Linked DNA regions of Homo sapiens: all the other regions are linked to region 1. Evidence: promoter capture Hi-C in 16 types of primary human blood cells and fetal thymus (Javierre and others, 2016). All regions are on one chromosome and are shown on one strand. The core of a region is centred on a gene start or on the middle of the fragment in contact, and the rest is flanking DNA. Distances in the headings are between cores, read along the strand shown. Region 1 holds the start of SNRPA1 (small nuclear ribonucleoprotein polypeptide A'). Region 2 overlaps LRRK1 (leucine rich repeat kinase 1). Region 3 overlaps LINC02348 (long intergenic non-protein coding RNA 2348).

Region 1 (2,700 bases), core at 117-2,616:
AGTGTGTTCATATCCCTAATATATAAAGAAATTCCACAAATCAATAAGAAAAAAGGCAGACAACTCCATAAGGAAAAAAAAAAAATGAGCCAGGGACTCGAAAGAACACTTAACCAAGGAAGCTATCAGAATGGGCACCATACACATGAGAAGGTTCTCAGCTTCATTAGTTATTAGAGAAAAGCAAAGCAAAGCAGTAGTGCAATACCACCACACACCCATCAGAATAGCTGAAGTTATAGAGTTAAAATGCCAAGAAGGCTGAAGCTGGAAGCCATGAAAACCCTTACACACCGCTGGAGTGTGTATATTATTTCAGCCTCTTAGCATAACTGTTGGGCATTACTTATTGATGATAGATATACCCTATGTCCCAGCAGTCCCACTCCAGGACAAACTCATGCAAACGTGCATCAGAACCACGTACCAGAAAATTCATAGTAGCATTACTCAGAATAGCCCTAACTGAAAACAACTTTGATGTCTATCAACAGCAGAATAAGTAATTTATGGTATAATATATACAATGGAATTCTCTTCAGCAGCAAAAGCAAACAAACCATCTCTGTATGCAACCTGGATGGACTCCAGACATAATATAGACTCCATGAAACTAGGCCAAAAAAAAAAGCATACTGCATGATTCTATTTATAGCAAAAGCAAGCAAACCGAATTTGTAGTGTTGAGTTCGCGGTTGCCTTTTGGGAAAGAGGGAGGCTTTCAGAATAGCGGTGTTTTGGATCCCGGTGTCGGCTACGCAGCTGTGTTCACTCTGGTCATTAATCACTGTAAATTCCTGATATGCACACTTTTATGTATATCACATTTCATACATATGAATATTCAGAAGTCTAAAGGTCACAAGCTTAACCGCAAACCCTACCGTGCCCGAGGCCGGGCTGGACTTGCGGGGCGGTGGGGTTGTCCCGGCGACCTGCCCCAGGCGGGCCACCTAGCCCGGGATCTCACACTGTAGCCCGGAGCCAAGGCCCAGGCCCGGGGCGGGCACCTGAACTGCTGGACCCTTCACTGAACCCCACGGGTTCCCGCGACGGCTGGTGGAGGGAGGACAGTCACCGCTTCCCCTCCCACCTCGAGGTGCGCTAATGCATGAGAAAGTTCCCCTCGGGTGTTTCCACATTCGCCTTAACTTTTAAACACCAACGTCTGGAATCAGGGGTCCTCCAGACTCCGAAACACACCCTAGGAAACAACCCAGAACGAGACACATCCCCTGTGCGCGCGCCACGACTTCCGGCAAGAACGCCCCCGGAGGCGTGGCTCTTCGATTGCTTCGGCCTGGCGGTCGAGCTGCGCGCGCACTCGGCGGCTGCGATTGGTGCTGCCTGGCGGCGGGGCGCGGGGCACGCTGGGACGTCTCGCTGGCGGGAGGCCACGGGCTTTCCACAGCGCGGGGGAACGGGAGGCTGCAGGATGGTCAAGCTGACGGCGGAGCTGATCGAGCAGGCGGCGCAGTACACCAACGCGGTGCGCGACCGGGAGCTGGACCTCCGGGGTGAGTCCGGGGGCGTGGGCGGCCAGTCCCCAGGCGGCACCGAGCCGCCTTATTTTCCGCGCTTTGCCGCGTGCACCGAAGGCCGGAGCTTGGCCCGCGGGCCGGTTGTCTGGGCTCCGACCGGGCTGCGCAGGGAACGCCGGGCCTGATTCTTGCCGTTGTTGCCAGATGAGCATCCGGTTAAGCTCCTGGGAGCCTTCTGTTAGCGCCGTGCCTCTTGACAGGCACGGGTGACTTCATTACTTCCTGGTGCGTCCTCGTGGGGCCCTGTTAGGCCTTGCTTGGCTGTTTCGCCGCTGGCTGTTTGAGGGCCCGGAAGAGCGGCTCATTAATGGTTGTAACGCAAGTGCAGGGCGCGGGATTGGTTCTTAATACTTGCCGCCAGATGATATTTTGAGCGTAGATAGGATATGTGTTCATTATTCCTAATGTGAGGGAGGAAACTAAGTCCCCGAACAACCGCGATTGTTTCCTCCAGTATTTTCTACTTAGTAGCTTTAATTGTCTGGCGTTTCCCCTATATGAAGACGTTTTAAAAATTGAACTGTGTCACCCAGGCTTGCACCGCCGGGTGCTGTGTGTAAGTTGTGGAAGCGCTCGCAATTATTCAGATTCCTGTACTATTTCAACCTTAGCAAGACTTGGTAAGATACTGGGAGGGCAGCTAGCTAGTTGGCATTTCAGGAGACGGCTTTAAAAGGGACGTGATAGAGCAACTTCTCTGAGGATAAGACCATGCTGTCGTAGCCTGAGATTTGTTCCCATGGGGACCTATGGCCTCGGAGCAGCATCGCTGCGGGATCTGCTTAGATTTCTTGCCGACCTTTGGGAAATCCCACTGTTTTGTGTTGTGTTGTGTTGAGATGGAGTCTCGCTCTTTCCGCCCCAGCTGGAGCGCAGTGGCGTGATCTCGGCTCACTGCAACCGCCGCCTCCCCGGTTCAGGTGATTCCTGTGTCTCAAGCCTCCCGAGTAGCTGGGAATACAGGCATGCGCCACCACGCCCGGCTAATTTTTTGTATTTTTAGTAAAGACATGGTTTCTCCATGTTGGTCAGGCTGGTCTCGAACTCCCGACCTCAGGTGATCCGCCCGCCTTGGTCTCCCGAAGTGCTGGGATTACAGGCTTGAGCCACTGCGCCCGGCCCAACTCACCACTTTTGATGATCTCTGCCATTTCTCTTT
Region 2 (2,700 bases), core at 93-2,592, 260 kb after region 1:
ACTATTCAAAATAGCAAAGATAAGGAACCAACCTAAGTGTCCATCAATGGAGAAATGGATAAAGAAAGGTCCATATACACAATGGAATACTACTTGGCTGTAAAAGAGAATGAAATCATGTCATTTGCAGCAACATGGATGAAACTGTAAGTCATTACATTAAATGAAATAAACCAGGCAAAGAGAAACAAATACTGCATGCTCCCACTCATATGTGGGAGCTAAAAAACTTGATCTTATGAAGATAGAAAATAGCATGACAGATACTAGAAGCTAGGAAGGGTGTGAGAGTGGGAGGAAGAGAGGTTGGTGAATGGGTACAGACATACAGTTAGAAGAAATAAGTTCTAATGGTTAATAGCAGACTAGGGTGACGATAGTTAGCAAGAATATATGGTATATTTCAAAGTGGTTAGAAGCCAGGACTTGAAATGATACCAACACATAGAAAGGATAAATACTCAAAGTGATGGATACCCCAAATACCCTGACTTGATCATTCCACATTCTACACATGTAAAAACTACTCACCTGTACCCCATAAATACGTAAAATATTATGTATTGATAAAAGAAATGTGAGCTAAGAAATGCAGCTCTAGAGACTGGAAAAGATAAGAAAATGGATTTTCTTCTAGAGCCTTCAGAGGCAGCATGATCCTGCTGACCCCTTGACTTTGGACCAGGGAAACTTACTTTGGACTTCTGGCCTCCAGAAAAATGTGTGTTGTTTTAAGATGCCACATTCATGGTATCTTACAGCAATCACAGGAAACTAATACAAAACGCTCACGCAACCTGATTTCAAGTCTTACTCTAAAGCTACAATAATCAGTGGGGTTTGGCACTGGCATAAGGATAGGCATATATATTAGTGGAACAAAATAGAGTCCTGAAATAAACCCACATCACTGATTTTTGATAAAGAAACCAAGATAATTCCATGGGGAAAGGAAAGTCTTTCCAACAAATGGTTCTGGAACAATGGGATAATATACAGGAAAAAAATGGACCTCGACCCCTACTTCACCCCATATACAAAAATTAATTTGACATAGATTATAGACCTGGAAGTAAAAGCTAAACTACAAACCTTCTAGAAGAAAAATAAAGAAAGATTGTCAAGATTGTGGTATAAGCAAATATTTCTTAAAGATGACATAAAAAGCAATAATCACACAATTTAAAAGTTAGACTTCATTAATATAAAAAAAGGAAGTCACAGACTGGGAGAAAATATTTGCAAATCATATATCTGAGAAAGAACTTGTATCGGGTAGGGGGAGGGGGGAGGGATAGCATTAGGAGATACACCTCATGTTAAATGACGAGTTAATGGGTGCAGCACAATATGGCACATGTGTACATATGTAACAAACCTGCACGTTGTGCACATGTACCCTAGAACTTAAAGAATAAAAAAAAAAGAACTTGTATCCAGAAGATATAAAGAAGTACATATCAGTACCAAAAAGGAAAACATTCTAATCATAAAATAGGCATAAAACTTGAATAGACACTTCACAGAAGAAGATATACCAACGGCCAATAAGCTCACGAAAGGTGCTAGACCTCATTAGTCATGAAGAAAATGTAAAGTAAAGCCACAGTCAAGTACAAGCTCACATCCACTGGAATAGCTAAAATCAGAAAGACCTACAGACAACAAATATTGGGGAGGAGGCCGGCGCAGTGGCTCACCCCTGTAATCCCAGCACTTTGGGAGGCCAAGGCAGGCGGATCACGAGGTCAGGAGATCGAGACCATCCTGGATAACATGGTGAAACCCTGTCTCTACTAAAAATACAAAAAATTAGCCAGGCGCGGTGGTGGGCGCCTGTAGTCCCAGCTACTTTGGAGGCTGAGGCAGGAGAATGGCAAGAACCCGGGAGGCAGAGCTTGTAATGAGCCAAGATCGTGCCACTGCACTCCAGTCTGGGCGACAGAGCGAGACTCCATCTCAAAAAAAAAAAAAATAGTGGGGAGGAAATGGAGTGTACAGTCTCTTGGAGGAGCATACAGTCTCTTGGGGGACAGCCTGGTGATTTCTTATAAAATTAAACTTACACTCTATTATCCAGCAATTCCACTCCTGGTTTTGATCCAAGAGAAATGAAAACATGTGTCTCCAAAAAGACTTAAGACTGTTTACAGCAGTGTTATTCATCATAGCCCAAAGTTGGAAACCATCCAAATGCCTATCAAGAGCTGAGTGGATAAACAAATTGCAGTAAAGCCATACAATGGAATACTACTCAGCAACAGAAAGAACAAACTCCTGATACACACAACCGCATGGATGGATCTCAAAGGCATGATGTTTAGTGCGAGAAGCCAATTAGAGACCATATTGCGTGACTCTGTGCGGTTGAGAAGTTCAAGAACAGGAAACAGTAGGCTCTGGTGCTGGAAGTCAGAGTGCTGGTGCTGACACGGATGGGAAGCGACTGGAAGGGCGTCTGGCGGAACTTCCAGTATGACAGGAACATTCTGTGTCTTGAGGCAGGTGCTGCTTGCACAGTTGTATGCATTTGTCAAAAGTCATTGTTTTGAACACTAGCGATCCGGGCATTTCACTGTAAGTAAACTTTACCTATGATGGAACACTACTCAGCCATAAAAAGGGATGAATTAACAGCATTTGCAGTGACCTGGAGGAGACGGGAGACTATTATTCTAAGTGAAGTAACTCAGGAATGGG
Region 3 (2,700 bases), core at 156-2,655, 310 kb before region 1:
ACCTGAGGGTGGACCTTGCAGTCCCGAGCTCTATGGTGAGCCTGTCACCCACCGTGGTCAGCTACCTCCATCCACAGATGGTTAAATGGATCTGGATCAACCACCTCCGAGGATGCCTGTGTTTCAGCGGAAGATGAGGCTGTGAGTTTTCTGCATTTCTTCCCAGTACAATCCATCGATGGGGGGTTGTTGTTCCCTCTGTCTTCACTGCCTGTGGCTGCCCTATGCCGGGTTACTATCACCCCCATGTTCCCACCCAACACAAACCTGCAGCTTCCTGCCTGACTTCCTGGACCTCTCGTCTGGCCTGCCTTTCCTTTCTTTTCCTTTTTTTTTTTTTTTTTTTTTTTTTTGAGATGGAGTCTCACTCTGTTGCCCAGGCTAGAACACAGTGGCACCATCTCGGCTCACTGCAACCTCTGCCTCACAGGTTCAAGCAATTCTCATGCCTCAGCTTCCTGAGTAGCTGGGATTACAGGTCTATACCACCACACCCAGCTGATTTTTTTATTTTATTTTTTTTTAGTAAAGACGGGGTTTCCCTATGTTGGCCAGGCTGGTCTCAAACTCCTGATCTCAGGTGGTCTGCCCACCTCAGCCTCCCAAAGCGCTGGGATTACAGGCATGAGCCACCACGCTCAGCCGCCTTTCTTTTCTTGAATGAACAGTTGACAAGATCAATGGGACCTAACCTGGGGTTGGGTGGGCCTTGGGCTGCCATTTCCGATTGTGCCCTTTCTGTTTTTAAAAGTACCTAGACACAACTGGATGCAGAGCTTATTCAAAAGGCCTTCAGGACAAGGGGGAAAGATTTTGTAAGGAATGGAGGGAGCATCATCAGTGGAAAGCCTGCCTCCACTTCCCATCCCTGTGATCATGACAGACATCACTAGCTGATCACTGACCATGGCATTCTTTCCCACAGAGTGTGAACTTGGCCTTTACATCCTTCTCCGCAGAGCACTGCAAGCAGCCAGTCCCACTGGAACATAAGATGAAGCTTTTGTTCCCATGGCTGGATACACTTTGGATCTTGGAATGCAATAATTACTTCAGCTGGATCTGGTTCGTGGAGTACTTGGCCAGGGCTCTGCCTCATGCCATGGTCCTACAAGATATGTGAGGAGGTGGACATCTTTGCGTAGCCCTCCTCCAGAGGCAAGTGGATTCCTTCCATAACCCAGAGAAGGCCGCTTGGGAATGAGGCTGAGAAGCCAGACTTTTTGGCACACAAAGAAAAAGGGAGTTTTCAAAGTTGCCGCAAATCATGCAGGAAGAGAAAACAGGACATTAGTGGACACTGATTCTTCCCCTCTGCTGAACTCTGAGTCCAGTTTAAATCTTTAATAACATAACACATGGAGAAAATTGCTTATATAAAATGATCACCTTTCTTTTAAAAAAAAAAAATTATAGAGACTGGGTCTTGCTCTATTGCCCATGCTGGAGTGCAGTGGCTTGATCATAGCTCACTGCAGCTTTGAACTGTTAGGCTCATATGATCCCCATGTCTCTGTCTCCTGAATAGCTGGGACTACAGGTGGACACTACCATGCCTAATTTTTTAGTTTTTTTTTTTTTTGAGATAGGATCTTGCTATGTTGCCCACGCTGGTCTTGAACTCCTGGTCTCAAGCAGTTATTCTGCCTCAGCCTCCCAAAGTGCTGGGATTACAGGCATAAAACACCACACTCAGCCAGAAGAAATTATCATCTTTCTAAAATCAAACTTCTCTTATATTCTGGGAACCTACTGAGGAAGGCACAGATTTATCCTCTAGATGCCAGAAGGCTAGAATTGGGAAAGCTTCGAAGCTTAAACAGGGCAAAGCGTAGGTCATAGAAGAATGTATTATCTATTGCTATGCAACAAATTACTCTAAAACTTTAAAAACACAAACATTTATTATCTCTCAGTTTTTCTGGGTGAGAATCTGGGTATGGCTTTGCTTGCTGCTTCTGACTCAAGGTCTCTCACCTGTCAAGGCTGCAATCAAAGTGTCGGCGGGGGCTGCAGTCTCATCTGAAGGCTTGCCTGGGGAGAACACACTTCCAAGCTCACTGCCATGGTGGATGGAAAGCCTCAGGGGTACTGCAATTGAGGGGAGAAAATGGCCAACTTGAGCCAGGGTGCAATGACATCAAGAGGCCTGGGAGCTGAGGAGAAAAGACTAAGGAGCCTGAGGAATGGATGTGGGTCTGGAAGAGAGCTGGAAGAGTACATGGTCCTGGGAGCCTCCTGGGGAAAGTGCTTTAAGTAGGAGGCAGAGACCAACTGGTTCCCATGGTGCCAATGAGTCATGTGAGATAAGGACTGAGAGTTGACATTAGGAGTGGCAGTGGAGGGGCATGTAGTGACTTTGACTAGAGCTATTTCCATGGGATGAGGAGGGTGAGGGAAGCTGACTAGTGTGGGCTCAGTTTATGCTGGAGGAGAGGACTGGGAGAATAATGCTCCTTCATGTTCCTCAGTTATGCTGTAAAGGGGAACGAGAAGCAGTAGCCGGAGAGGACTGGGGGAAGGGGCATCTAGGTTTCATCCATGCATCTGATGGGAATGATCCTGCAAAGGGGAAATGAACAATGCAGGCGAGAGAAGCAAGCCCTGCTGGACACATCCTTGAGTAGGCAGAAGCCAATGTCTGGTGCATAGGCAGAGGGCTGGCTTTAGGTGGGAAGGATGGGTGGGAAGATGAGCCGG

The links. The method cuts DNA at HindIII sites, captures the fragments that hold promoters and counts their contacts. A CHiCAGO score of 5 or more calls a contact.
Region 2: a fragment that was not itself captured here is called in contact with the fragment with the promoter of SNRPA1 in region 1 in 7 of 17 cell types (M2 macrophages, megakaryocytes, M1 macrophages and 4 more); the score reaches 7.2 in M2 macrophages.
Region 3: a contact is called between a fragment that was not itself captured here and the fragment with the promoter of SNRPA1 in region 1, in 5 of 17 cell types (M0 macrophages, megakaryocytes, M1 macrophages and 2 more). The highest score is 9.4, in M0 macrophages.

Annotation. Positions count from the first base shown.
Region 1 is chr15:101,293,914-101,296,613 of GRCh38, reverse strand. SNRPA1 (small nuclear ribonucleoprotein polypeptide A') reads left to right here and starts at 1,366. Exons shown (of 9, transcript NM_003090.4): 1 at 1,366-1,517. The coding sequence starts at 1,436. It overlaps SNRPA1-DT (SNRPA1 divergent transcript), which reads right to left and starts at 1,266. Exons shown (of 2, transcript NR_186319.1): 1 at 885-1,266. RefSeq lists enhancers at 1,018-1,107, 1,168-1,217, 1,781-2,412 and a silencer at 1,448-1,637. The HindIII fragment of the contact is 2,362 bases long and covers 869-2,700 here.
Region 2 is chr15:101,031,014-101,033,713 of GRCh38, reverse strand. The region is part of intron 20 of LRRK1 (leucine rich repeat kinase 1); the gene reads right to left. Among named protein-coding and RNA genes, the nearest start is that of LRRK1, 110 kb to the right of the region's middle. The HindIII fragment of the contact is 8,031 bases long and covers 1-2,700 here.
Region 3 is chr15:101,604,261-101,606,960 of GRCh38, reverse strand. It overlaps LINC02348 (long intergenic non-protein coding RNA 2348), which reads left to right. Exons shown (of 3, transcript NR_147041.1): 3 at 926-2,700. Among named protein-coding and RNA genes, the nearest start is that of LINC02348, 8.7 kb to the left of the region's middle. The HindIII fragment of the contact is 806 bases long and covers 1,003-1,808 here.